Regions from separate parts of the Homo sapiens genome. Here region 2 is linked to region 1. Evidence: promoter capture Hi-C in 16 types of primary human blood cells and fetal thymus (Javierre and others, 2016). All regions are on one chromosome and are shown on one strand. Each heading gives the region's core, a stretch centred on a gene start or on the middle of the fragment in contact. The rest is flanking DNA. Distances are from core to core; before and after follow the strand shown.

Region 1 (6,223 bases), core at 1,140-3,639:
AGCCCCTACAAAATTTTCTCTGTGAAGGTCATGTGCTCCCAGCTGCTGAAACTGGTAAGCGTAAGGGTTGAACTCCTCTCCTGCCAAGCCATAGCCTCCCCTGCCTCCAGGACTAATATCTAAATTGTTTTCTGTCATCCGATCTAGCATGTCTACAGGAAACTTGGACTGGAAAGGAGATCACAGATGGGGAAGAGAAAACAGAAGGGGAGGAAGAGCAGGAGGAGGAGGAGGAAGAGGAGGAAGAGGAAGGGGGAGACAAGATGACCAAGACAGGAAGCCACCCCAAACTTGACCGAGAAGATCTTTGACCCTTGCCTTTGAGCCCCCAGGAGGGGAAGGGATCATGGAGAGCCCTCTAAAGCCTGCACTCTCCCTGCTCCACAGCTTTCAGGGTGTGTTTATGAGTGACTCCACCCAAGCTTGTAGCTGTTCTCTCCCATCTAACCTCAGGCAAGATCCTGGTGAAACAGCATGACATGGCTTCTGGGGTGGAGGGTGGGGGTGGAGGTCCTGCTCCTAGAGATGAACTCTATCCAGCCCCTTAATTGGCAGGTGTATGTGCTGACAGTACTGAAAGCTTTCCTCTTTAACTGATCCCACCCCCACCCAAAAGTCAGCAGTGGCACTGGAGCTGTGGGCTTTGGGGAAGTCACTTAGCTCCTTAAGGTCTGTTTTTAGACCCTTCCAAGGAAGAGGCCAGAACGGACATTCTCTGCGATCTATATACATTGCCTGTATCCAGGAGGCTACACACCAGCAAACCGTGAAGGAGAATGGGACACTGGGTCATGGCCTGGAGTTGCTGATAATTTAGGTGGGATAGATACTTGGTCTACTTAAGCTCAATGTAACCCAGAGCCCACCATATAGTTTTATAGGTGCTCAATTTTCTATATCGCTATTAAACTTTTTTCTTTTTTTCTAAAAACTAGCTGGGCCCAAAGTTTCAAACAACAGCCGGGCACACATAGCTAGCTGGTCGATGAGGCAGCACCCAGAATGGCCGCTGTCTTGTTAAGCTCAAGCTCCAGCCTGAGCAACATAGTGAAACCCCAATTCTACACACACACACACACACAAAGAAGACTGCAGGGCTGGTGGTGCAGCGCCTGTAGTCCCAGTTACTGCAGAGGTGGAGATGGGAGGATCACTTGAGTCCAAAAGGTCAAGACCAGCCTGGAGGCTGGGCGCAGTGACTCACACCTGTAATCCTAGCACTTTGGGAGGCCGAGGCAGGCGGATCACCTGAGTGTAGGAGTTCGAGAGCAGCCTGGCCAACATGGAGAAACCTCGTCTCTACCAAAAATACAAAAATTAGCCGGGCGGCTGGGCGCGGTGACTCACGCCTGTAATCCCAGCACTTTGGGAGGCCAAGGCGGGTGGATAACAAGATTAGGAGATCGAGACCATCCTGGCTAATACGGTGAAAGCCCGTCTCTACTAAAAATACAAAAAATTAGCCGGGTGTGGTGGCAGGCGCCTGCAGTCCCAGCTACTCGGGAGGCTGAGGCAGAAGAATGGCGGGAACCCGGGAGGCGGAGCTGGCAGTGAGCCAAGATCGTGCCACTGCACTCCAGCCTGGGTGATAGAGCGAGACTCCGTCTCAAAAAAAAAAGCCACGCATGGTGGTGGGCGCCTGTAATCCCAGTTACTCGGGAGGCTGAGACAGGAGAATCGCTTGAACCCAGGAGGCGGAGGTTGCAGTGAGCTGAGATCACGCCACTGCACTCTAGCCTGGGCGACAGAACAAGACTCCGTCTCAAAAAAAACCAAAAAAAATTTAGAGGGGCGTGCACGCCTGTATTCCCAGCACTCCAGGAGGCTGAAGCAGGAGGATCGCTAGAACCAGGGGTTCAAGACTGGGGCGAGCTATGATGGTGCCCCTGCACTCTAGCCTGGGCGACAGGGCGAGACTGTCTCAAAAGAAAAAAAGACCAGGCGCGGTGGCTCACACCTGTAATCCTAGCACTTCAGGAGACCAAGACTGGAGGATCGCTGGAGCCCAGGAGTTCCAGACCAGTCCTGGCAACAGAACTAGACCGTGTCTCCAAAAAAAAAGAGAAAGAAAAAATAGAAACCTTAGCTGGGCTTGGTGGTGCGCATCTGTGGTCCCAGATACTCGGGACGCTGAGGCGGGAGGATCACATGAGCCCAGGAGGTTGAGGCTGCAGTGAGGTATGATCGCGCCACTGCACTCCTGCCTGGGCAACTGAGCATGAACCCTCCTCAAAGCTAATGGCGCTTCAAAATTCTGCAGTGCAAAGAAGTTGCTGGGGTTGCGGAGCGGAGAACCGCCAGGAGGCTGGAGCCCAGCCAGGCAGCCTCCTCGGGCACACGGTGAAGGCGCCGGAACTACAGCTACCTCCGCGGCGCCGCTTCGGCCGCCATATCTGGGTACACGGGAACCGCAGAGGACAAACTCTCACCCGCGTTTTCGATTTCTGCGCTTTCTTCGAGTGAGGCAAGACCTAGCAGAGGCCCAAGGTAGAGCGCGGCTAGGATTCGATGGAGGGAAACATAAAGGATAGCCTTTGGAGGGTGACGGGCAAGGACGTACGTACCGCGAACGGAATGGGGCGGGGGCCGAGGACGCCGAGGGAGGGGCGGGCCCAAGTGTGAAGGGAGTCTGGGCGATACCATTTTGGGCAGGGGTTGAGGGTGATACCAACTTAATGGGAGGCGGGTGGCAGAGAACCGAGGCTTAGGGGCAGTGGCGGGGCCGAGCGCGGGTGGGGGATCGCGGAGGGACAGGACGGTCGCCCACTGCTCCATTTCCTTTCTCCCCAGCCCGTCCCTCCCTGCCAGGAGCAGCCTCATGCGGACCGAGCCGCTGTGCGGGGCATCCCCTCTGCTGGTGCCCGGCGACCCCTACTCTGTGGTGGTTCTGCTGCAGGGCTACGCGGAGCCAGAGGGTGTGGGCGATGCCGTGCGCGCCGACGGCTCCGTGACCCTGGTCCTACCCCAGACCCGGGGCCCGGCCTCCAGCCACCGAGAGTCCCCGCGCGGGAGTGGCGGCGCAGAGGCCGCCCTGGAGGAGGCGGCCCGTGGCCCCATCCTGGTGGACACCGGGGGCCCCTGGGCTCGGGAGGCGCTGCTGGGGGCGCTGGCGGGGCAGGGCGTGGCCCCGGGAGACGTGACGCTAGTGGTGGGGACCCACGGGCACTCGGATCACATCGGGAACTTGGGGCTGTTCCCAGGCGCGGCTCTGCTGGTCTCGCACGACTTCTGCCTTCCCGGAGGCCGCTACCTGCCCCACGGGCTGGGTGAGGGGCAGCCCCTGCGCCTGGGCCCGGGGCTCGAGGTGTGGGCCACGCCGGGCCACGGGGGCCAGCGCGACGTGAGCGTGGTGGTGGCCGGCACGGCTCTGGGCACCGTGGTGGTGGCGGGAGATGTGTTTGAGCGAGATGGGGACGAGGATTCGTGGCAGGCACTGAGTGAAGACCCCGCAGCCCAGGAGCGGAGCCGGAAGAGGGTCCTGGTCGTTGCCGACGTGGTCGTACCTGGTCACGGGCCCCCCTTTCGAGTGTTAAGGGAAGCCTCGCAGCCCGAGACGGAGGGTGGAGGGAACAGCCAGCAGGAGCCGGTGGTCGGAGACGAGGAGCCCGCCCTGCACTAATCAGCCTCGAGAGGGACTGCACTCTTGTCAGGGAAGCCCTAACAGCGAAGAGCTGCTGGAGACAGAGTCAGAGCAGTCAAGGGTGGGAGCTTCCAGCCCTTCCAGGAGGCCAGTTTTCTAGTGAAGACAGAGTGCACCTGACACTGCCATCACATCGTCAGTATCACTGCCTGTCTCTGCCACCAAACTAAGATCAAAGGAGGGGCTCAGCTCCCTGTGCATTCTCCCTGGGCCTCAGTAAAATGGGAGAAGGTTCGTGGGAGGGGCCTCCAAAATAAAAATGGAAACTGCATTGAAAATCATAGTGCCCTAGTGTAAATGTGAAGCATTGACAATGATAATCGTGCAAACATGGTAATCTACAACTACAGCAGAGGCATACTTTGGCCAATTGCCCCTTTCTTATAGGATGGAGGTTGCTGAGAGAAGGTACAGGGCATAAAGATGACCCCTTAGTCACCTGACTTATGTATTTGTTCATATTTTTTTGTCACACAGGCTAGAGTGCAGTTGTGCAGTCATAGCTCACTGCAGCCTCCAGCTTAAGCCATCCACCTGCCTCAGCCTCCCAAGTAGCTGGGATGACAGGCAAGTGCCACTATGCCCCACTAATTTTTTTTTTTTTTTGAAACACGGTTTCACTCTGTCCCCACAGGCTGCAATGCAATAGCACAATCTTGTACTGCAGACTGCACTGCAACCTCTGCCTCCTGGGTTCAATTGGTTCTTGTGCCTCAGCCTTCCCAGCAGCTGGGATTACAGGCTCACACTACCATGTCCAGCTAATTTTTATATTTTTAGTAGAGAAAGGGTCTTACCATGTTGGCCACACTGGTCTCAAACTCCTGGCCTCAAGTGATCTGCCCATCTCAGCCTCCCAAAGTGCTGAGGTTACAGGTATGAACCACCATGCCTGGCTATCAGCTAATTTTTTTTTTTCATTTTTTTTCAGAAATGGTCTCACTGTGTTGCCCAGGCTGGTCTTGAACTCCTGACCTAAAAAGATCCTACCTTCTCAGGCCCTCTGCATTTTTTTTTGCTGGGATTACAGGCATGAGCCACTGTGCCCTTCCCCAAGTGTGATGATTTAATATCTGTTTTCTTTCAGCAGCCGGATTGCTCCCATGGGCATGGGATGGGGCCACACCTGCCTGGCTCTCCTATGCTTGGGACCTCCAGCACCTTGGACAACCTCTGGCACAGAGTAGGGCGGGGTGAAACAGCAACAGATGCCTGAAGTGAGATCCTAAGAGCTCACAGAGCAGACCAGTTCTACTTGCTCTAAGCACTTTCTGTACATTATTATTATTATTATTATTGACTGAGTCTTGCTCTGTAACCCAGGCTGGAGTGTAGTGGTGCAATCAAAACTCACTGTGACCTGGAACTCCTGGGCTTAAGTGATCCTTCCACTTCAGCCTTCAGCCTCCCAAACTGCTGGGGTTACAGGCGTGAGCCACCGTGCCCAGCCCCATCCATTAACTTATTTGTTCCTCATCGCAGCTCTGAGCTAAGTACTATTATTATCTTTCTTTCTTTCTTTCCTTTCTCTCTCTCTCTCTGTCTCTTTCTTTCTTTCCACAGAGTCTCACTCTGTTGCCCAGGTTGGAGGAGTGCAGTGGCTCGATCTCGGTCAATGCAACCTCCGCCTCCTGGGTTCAAGCACTTCTCTGCCTCAGCCTTCCGAGTAGCTGGGATTACAGGTGCCTGCCACCGTGCCCAGCTACATTTTTTTTTTTTTTCTGAGACGGAGTTTCACTCTTGTTGCCCAGGCTGGAATACAGTGGCACAGTCTCAGCTCACTGCAACCTCCGCCTCCTGGGTTCAAGCGATTCTTGTGCCTCAGCCACCCGAGTAGCTGGGACTACAGGCGCACACCACCACATCTAGCTAAATTTTCTATTTTTAGTAGAGACAGGGTTTCACCATGTTGGCCAGGCTGGTCTCGAACTCCTGACCTCAGGCGATCCACCCACCTCAGCCTCCCAAAGTGCTGGGATTACAGGCGTGAGTCACTGCGCCTGGCTTTTTGTATTTTTTTTTTTAAGCGGAGATGGGGTTTTGCCATGTTGGCCAGGCTGGTTGAACTCCTGACCTCAGGTGATCCAGCTGCCTCAGCCTCCCAAAGTGCTAGGATTACAGATGTTGAGCTGCCACACCTGGCCTATTATTCCTTTTCACAAATAAGAAAATACTGAAGTGCTGAGTGGTTAAGTGACTTGACCTTAAGTCAACAGAGATGACATAAATAGTAATTAGTGGCTGGGTGAGGTGGCTCACACCTGTAATCCCAGAGCTTTGGGAAGCTGAGGTGGGAGGATTGCTTGAGCCCAGGAGTTTGAGGCCAGCCTGGGCAACATAGCAAAACCCCAACTCTAAAAAAAGAAAAAAAAAATTAGTTGGGCTTGGTGGAGCCCACCTGCAGCCCCAGCTACTTGGGAGGCTGAGGCAGAAGGATCACTTGAGCCCAGGAGTTGGAGGCTGCAGTGAAGCCATGATTGCATCACTGCACTCCAGCATGGGCAACAGGTCAAGACCCTGAAAGTTATTGGCAAAGAGTAACTGGCAGAGCAGAGATTCCAACCCAGGCAATCTCGCTACAGA
Region 2 (6,223 bases), core at 1,966-4,465, 240 kb after region 1:
AGAGCGAAGGAAGCCAACAGAGGGTAGCAAGGTTTTGCGGGGGCGGTTTCAGGAGATGACGTGGTGGACAACAGGGAGAACAGGTCGGGGGGGAGCCTCAGGGTGCCAGCTGAGTCCCAGGCCCTTCCTGATGGGTTTGGGCAGAGCTGATCTGCTGCTCTGGTCCCTCTAAGGAGGGCCTCAGCCTAGGGCGCAGCAGAGAAGGTGGGATGGAGACTGCTATCACCTGGATGCCACCCTGACTCACTGTTGGTCCCCCTACACGTCAGCAGCGGACTAAAGCCACAACCCCAGCCAGCTGAGTGCTGGGCCTCCCCAAGGGAGTGGGGAGTACAGGTGCGGGCAGGGGACGGGTTTGGAAATCAGGGACTGTGCTGCTAAGAACCCCACAAGCCCAGCCTGCCACAAATTCTCCTGAGTTTTTGCCACCTCCCACTTAAATCTGATCTCTGAAGCAACTGCCTCGCCTGCCTCACTAATAATCCTGGCCCTGCATCTAAAAACACTTCCCCTCCTGCAGGTAGCAGGGCGCCAAGCAGTGACTTCTGACCAACAGAGTGTGGGGAGAAGGGATGTGTATTAGCCCCGGAGGACGTGATGTGAGACCCGCTTGTGAGTCCTCCACACTCGTTCCCCATTGGCAAGATACATGGAGAGCACCCTGAGGACCTTTAAAAGGCAAAGCCGCAAGGCAGAAGGAGGCTGGGTCCCTGAATCACCGACTGGAGGAGAGTTACCTACAAGAGCCTTCATCCAGGAGCATCCACACTGCAATGATATAGGAATGAGGTCTGAACTCCACTGAATTAAACCACTGGCATTTGGGGGCTGTTTATTATAGCAGTGCAAAGAGTTCCTTTATCCTCCCCAAGGATGGAAAAATACAATTTATTTTGCTTACCATACACCCCTTTTCTCCTCGTCCACATTTTCCAATCTGTATGGTGGCTGTCTTCTATGGCAGAAGGTTTTGGGGAATAAATAGCGTGAAATGCTGCTGACACTTCCCTGTGCATCTCCCACATGGCTGCCAAGTGCCCCTTCCTGCTCTGCAGTACCTGAGTCCAGTCATGATGCAGGGAGCCTCCCCACTAGAAACAGATGGCACTCACAGATTTAAAGCAGTTGGAAGCAAGTTTAAGAAGGGAAATCTTTTTTTTTTTTTTTTTTTTTTTTTGAGACAGAGCCTCACTCTCATCACCCAGGCTGGAGTGCAGTGGCGCAATCTCTGCTCACTGCAACCTCTGCCTCCTGGGTTCAAGCCATTCTCATGCCTCAGCCTCCCAAGTAGTTGGGATTACAGGCGTGCACCCCCACACTCAGCTAATGTTTGTATTTTTTAGTGGTACTGGAGTTTCACCAAGTTGTCCAGGCTGGTCTCAAACTCCTGGGCTCAAGCAATCCTCCAGCCTCAGTCTCCCAAATAGCTGCAATTACAGGCGTGAGCCACCATGCCTGGCTGAGAGGGAATCGTTAAGAAGGAGTGGGCAGGGGCAAGAACACTGTCAGAGACAGTGTGTTGGCCACGGCTACTACAGCAAATTGGCTGCTTCCTGTGATCGCACGGGTTGAGGGCTCAGTTCCACAAGGCTGCCCCAGCATCAGATGCCAGTCGCAAGCTCACGTGGTGCCTGTGCTTCTGACACAGGGCTATAAAAATTGAGGTTCCCATGATCCCCTCCTTGGGTTCAATTAATTTTCTAGAATGGTACCTAGAACTCAGGGAAGCCCTTTACTTACATGTGTCCCCTTATAAAGGATATTATAGGGCCTGGCGCCATGGCTCATGCCTGTAATCTCTGTGCTTCAGGAGGTTGAGGGGGGAGGTTCACTTGAGCACAGGAGTTTGAGACCAACCTGGGCAACATAGCGAGACCCCGTCTCAAAATAAAGATATAGGATATTACAAAGGATAGTTATGAACAGCCAGATATAAGAGATACACAGAGGGAGGCCTGGGGGAAGGGGTGCAAAGCTTCCGTGTCTTCTCTAGGCACTGCACCCTCTAGGAAGCTCCATGAGTTCAGTTATCCAGAAGCCCTCTGCATCCCTTTTGGGTTTTTATGGGCTTCATTATAAAGGCATGATTGGGCCAGGCACAGTGGCTCATGACTGTAATCCCAGCACATTTTGAGGCTGAGGTGGGAGAATCAATTGAGCCCTCAGGTGGCAACTGAGGCTGCAGTGAGTTGTGATTGCACCACTGTACTCCAGCCTGGGTGACAGAGAGAGAGCCTGTCTCAAAAAAAAAAGACAAAACAAAAAACCTGGCCAATACGGTGAAACCCCATCTCTACTGAAAATGATCGTCACCTGATCCCCACCCCTTGAAGATGCCTCCACCCTCTCCATACGCATTTGGTCAGCACTAACTGCCCTGGGTGACAGGCACACTGCACTGGGTGACAAGGACCCAAAGCTACACCAGCCAGTGCCCCAGCCCTCAAGCACCTCCCTGTGCAGAAGGAAGACAACACAGAAAAGGGAAGCATGGTTGTCACAGAGGCCCAGAGGACTGCTGGCTGATGTCACTGAATGGGGAAGTGGTTGGCCGCACAGGCCCCAAGCTCAGACCTGATGCCACAGTGGACGTTCCTGGGCCATGTGACCTCAGGCTAGGCTCAGAACCACCCTCAGGGCCTCCGTTTCTTTCTGTATAAATTGAGGACCATACAGAGATGCTGCCTACCTCCTGGGATTGTCCAGAGAGTTAAAAGCTCTTTTAAAATGCGCCTGCTGGGCCAGGCACAGTGTCTCACACCTGTAATCCCAGCACTTTGGGAGGCTGAGGCAGGCAGATCACAAGGTCAGGAGGTCGAGACCAGCCTGAACAACATAGCAAAGCTCCATCTCTACTAAAAATACAAAAAGTAGCCGGGCGGGCATGGTGGCACGTGCCTGTAATCCCAGCTACTCAGGAGGCTGAGGCAGGAGAATCACTTGAACTCAGGAAGTGGAAGTTGCAGTGAGCCGAGATTGTACCATTGCACTCCAGCCTGGGTGACAGAGCGAGACTCCGTCTCAAAAAATAAAAATAAATCAAATGCACCTGCTGGCAGGGCGCGGTGGTTCATGCCTGTAATCTCAGCAACTTTGGGAGGCCTAGGCAGGTGGATCACCTGAGGTAAGGAGTTCAAGACCAGCCTGGCCAACATGGTGAAACCCCATCTCTGCTAAAACTACAAAAATTAGGTGAGCATAGTGGTGGGCACCTGTAGTCCCAGTTACTCGGGAGGCTGAGGCAGGAGAATCGCTTGAACCTGGGAGGCAGAGGTTGCAGTGAGCCGAGATGGTGCCACTGCACTGCAGCCTGGGCGACAGAGTGAGACTCCGTCTCAAAATAATAATAATAATAAAACAAAATGCACCTGCCATTTCTTTCCATCAGGTATGGCCATGGAAATGAGGGTCATAAGGGAAGCAGTGTATCCTCACAGATCCCCAGAAACGAGAGACACAGCCATGCAGGGCCACTTGGGAAAGCACCAGGGTCCCTCAGGGAGTAGAGGAAGCCAAGGGAACACAGGGGTGAGACCCTTTGTTATGCTTTCCCTGGAAAAGGCAAGGAAGGGTATGCAGGTTTAGGATTGGCTAGTTAGAATAACGTTAGCAGGCTCTGGGGATTAGAGGCTGTCATTTGTTATTTGGTGTCTGGCCCAGGATGATGAAGGCAGAGAAATACTGCCTTCTGAAGGGTGAGAGGCAGCTAGAAGAGCTGGTTCAGTGTTGGGGCCCTGGATTAGCTGGTTTGCATATGAAAGGCACACTCAGCCAGGAGCCGTGGCTCAAGCCTGTAATCCCAGCACTTTGGGAGGCCGAGGTGGGCAGATCACAAGGTCAGGAGATGGAGACCATCTTGGCCAACGTGGTGAAACCCCGTCTCTATTAAAAATACAAAAATTAGTTGGGCATGGTGGCACGCACTTGTAATCCCAGCAACTTGGGAGGCTGAGGCAGGAGAATCGCTTGAACCCAGGGGTGGAGGTTGCAGTGAGCCGAGACCGTGCCACTGCACTCCAGCCTGGCAGCAGAGTGAGACTGTTTCAGAAAAAAAAAGGGACACTCTCAGAGGGGTCATTTGCTAGCTCTAACAACTGGCTGGCTCTGGCAGGGGCAGTCCCTCTCTCTGCTCTTGGAGGTCCAAGATGCCAGAATATCAGCAATCCAGTGGGGCTTGGTGAGGTGGCTCACACCTGTCATCCCAGCACTGAGGGAGGCCGAGGCAGGAGGATTGCTTAAGCCCAGGAACTTGAGACCAGCCTAGACAACATAGTGAGACCCCATCTCTCAAAAAAAAAAAAAAATTAGCCGTGTGTGGTGGTGTGTGCCTGTGGTCTTCACTACTTGGGAGGCTGAGGTCAGCAAATTGCTTCAGCCCAGGAGTGATGGTGATCGCGTCCCTACACTCCAGTCTGTGGACACTCTAGTACCTTGAGGACAGTACAGCCTGATTACAGAAGCTTTACAGCAAGTCTTGAAGTCAGGTATTATAAATCTTCCACCTTCATTCTTCATTTGTAAAGGCCTTTTGGCTATTCTAGGTCCTTTGAATTACTGTGAGAATATTACAGTTGGCTTGTGAACTCCACAAAGCCTATGGGATGTCGATTGGGATCAGAGGAAAGCAGGAACGGTGGGTGCCAAGGAGAGGTGAGGGGCTGGGGGCAGGGACGGATGTGGCCAGTGAGGACAGTAGGATACTTGTTGGGGGAATGTGGGGACATCCAAGCAGTGGTTCTCATAATGCGGTGCAGGGTACTTACCCCCTCCCTGCCCCTGCTCCCCACACACGACTTCCCACGCCTCTCCCATGAGCACCTGCACTAAGGGGCTGCATTTAGGCTCTGCCCACATTGGAATCATGCCCTCCTCCAGGCCCTCCTCCTCCTCTCAGAAGCCCTGTCTGTGAGAGAGCCACAGCCCCAGGCTCAGTCCCAGGTTCTGTCACTGCTGTTGGGGGAGGGAGGATGAACAAATCCAGGAGACCTCACACCATCCCAGAGCAGAAATCCTGACACAGAAGGAATCTCCCATGGGGGTTCAGCTGGATCCAGGGCCTGAAAGTGACATAAACATGCATGTTGCATCTAAGGAGACTGCACGTGGCAGCATTGGGCAGCATGTGCCCTCCAGAGCTACCCAGAGGCTGTTGGCTATAAGTTCTATGTGGCCCCCACATTGGACAGCCTGGTAAGCAGGTGACCTTTCAGCCAGGTCCTCAGGTGGGGCGGGCCACCCTCTCGAGGCCCTGCCCAGACAGCCAGGGGGTCCCTTGTCCTCTCTGCAGCCCATCTTTCCAGCTGTGACCAGTTCAGCCCAAAGCCCCCGTCCCTCAGTTTCCCTGTGGGTTGAATGGAGATAATGTGTCACCTCAGAATGTTGTGAAGCAGAGAATGAGGTGTTTAGGGCCTGGCTCAGACGGAGGGGTTTCCTGAGCATGGGGAACCTGTTTCCTCAGGCCTGTAAAGGGAGGGAGGGCGGGCCGGCCTGGCTGGCCCTGGGAAGCACAGAGGAGCCTACTAGGACCAGGGAAGAGACTAAGAGAAGGGAGGCCCGTCCCTGCCTGCTTCTGTCTCAAGAAGGCTGATGTCACTTCCTCTGATGAAATCCTGTCTTCCCCCACGGCCCCTCAACTGATGCCACCTCACCCTGGAGAGGGTGGGCAGAGCCTCCTACGGAGGGAGCCCTGTGCACCACCAAAGCTCCCTGCTCCAGTGACCACCCCCGGGCAAAGGCCGGCAGATCCCCGTTAGAGATGGGCCCAGGACTGTGTGTGGGGTGGGTGTTGCTCTGAGCCTTCACTTTCTTCTGTGTCCAAGGAAGCTTCTGGATCAGCCAAGGGCTCAGGTGTGTGGAGGGAATGACCTGAGGGGCTGTATGAAGGGACAGCCTCCTGTCCTGCACTCAGAAGTTGAGGCCCAGAGATTCCACCCTTCAGCCAGGCCCAGACATCTGGGTTGAGGGGGCTCCAGTCCTGTACCCACTACTGCAAGTCACGTGGCCTGGGGCAGGGCTTCTCAGAGCCCTGTCCCCTCCTGTGTAGGGCGGGACGTCAGAGGGGAGCCTGCAGACCCAGTCTCATGTCTTGGGGGTCAAGGGGTGGCTTCCAGAAGGACCAGTCTCTGTGTAGGGGACCATTAGCCCCCTCACCCCTTGAGCAAGGTCGTGGTGCCTGCACCGAGAGAGGGCCTGGGGCAGGAAGAGGCCAGCTGGGTCGTGGTGG

The links. Contacts are between HindIII fragments. The CHiCAGO score rates a contact against its expected background, and 5 or more counts as called.
Region 2: a contact is called between a fragment that was not itself captured here and the fragment with the promoter of MBLAC1 in region 1, in 1 of 17 cell types (total CD8 T cells). The highest score is 5.8, in total CD8 T cells.

What each region holds. Positions count from the first base shown.
Region 1 is chr7:100,124,578-100,130,800 of GRCh38, forward strand. It overlaps MBLAC1 (metallo-beta-lactamase domain containing 1), which reads left to right and starts at 2,390. Exons shown (of 2, transcript NM_203397.3): 1 at 2,390-2,487; 2 at 2,791-3,918. The coding sequence starts at 2,819. The coding sequence ends at 3,619. CNPY4 (canopy FGF signaling regulator 4) reads left to right here. Exons shown (of 6, transcript NM_152755.2): 5 at 1-54; 6 at 148-931. The coding sequence ends at 311. It also overlaps a transcript of TAF6 not described here. RefSeq lists enhancers at 960-1,629, 2,340-2,409 and silencers at 2,610-2,729, 2,820-3,299. The HindIII fragment of the contact is 8,479 bases long and covers 579-6,223 here.
Region 2 is chr7:100,366,829-100,373,051 of GRCh38, forward strand. PILRB (paired immunoglobin like type 2 receptor beta) reads left to right here. Exons shown (of 4, transcript NM_178238.4): 4 at 521-1,003. The coding sequence ends at 549. It overlaps STAG3L5P-PVRIG2P-PILRB (STAG3L5P-PVRIG2P-PILRB readthrough), which reads left to right. Exons shown (of 17, transcript NR_036570.1): 17 at 521-1,003. It also overlaps a transcript of PILRA not described here. Among named protein-coding and RNA genes, the nearest start is that of PILRA, 3.5 kb to the right of the region's middle. RefSeq lists an enhancer at 3,576-4,327. The HindIII fragment of the contact is 2,485 bases long and covers 1,974-4,458 here.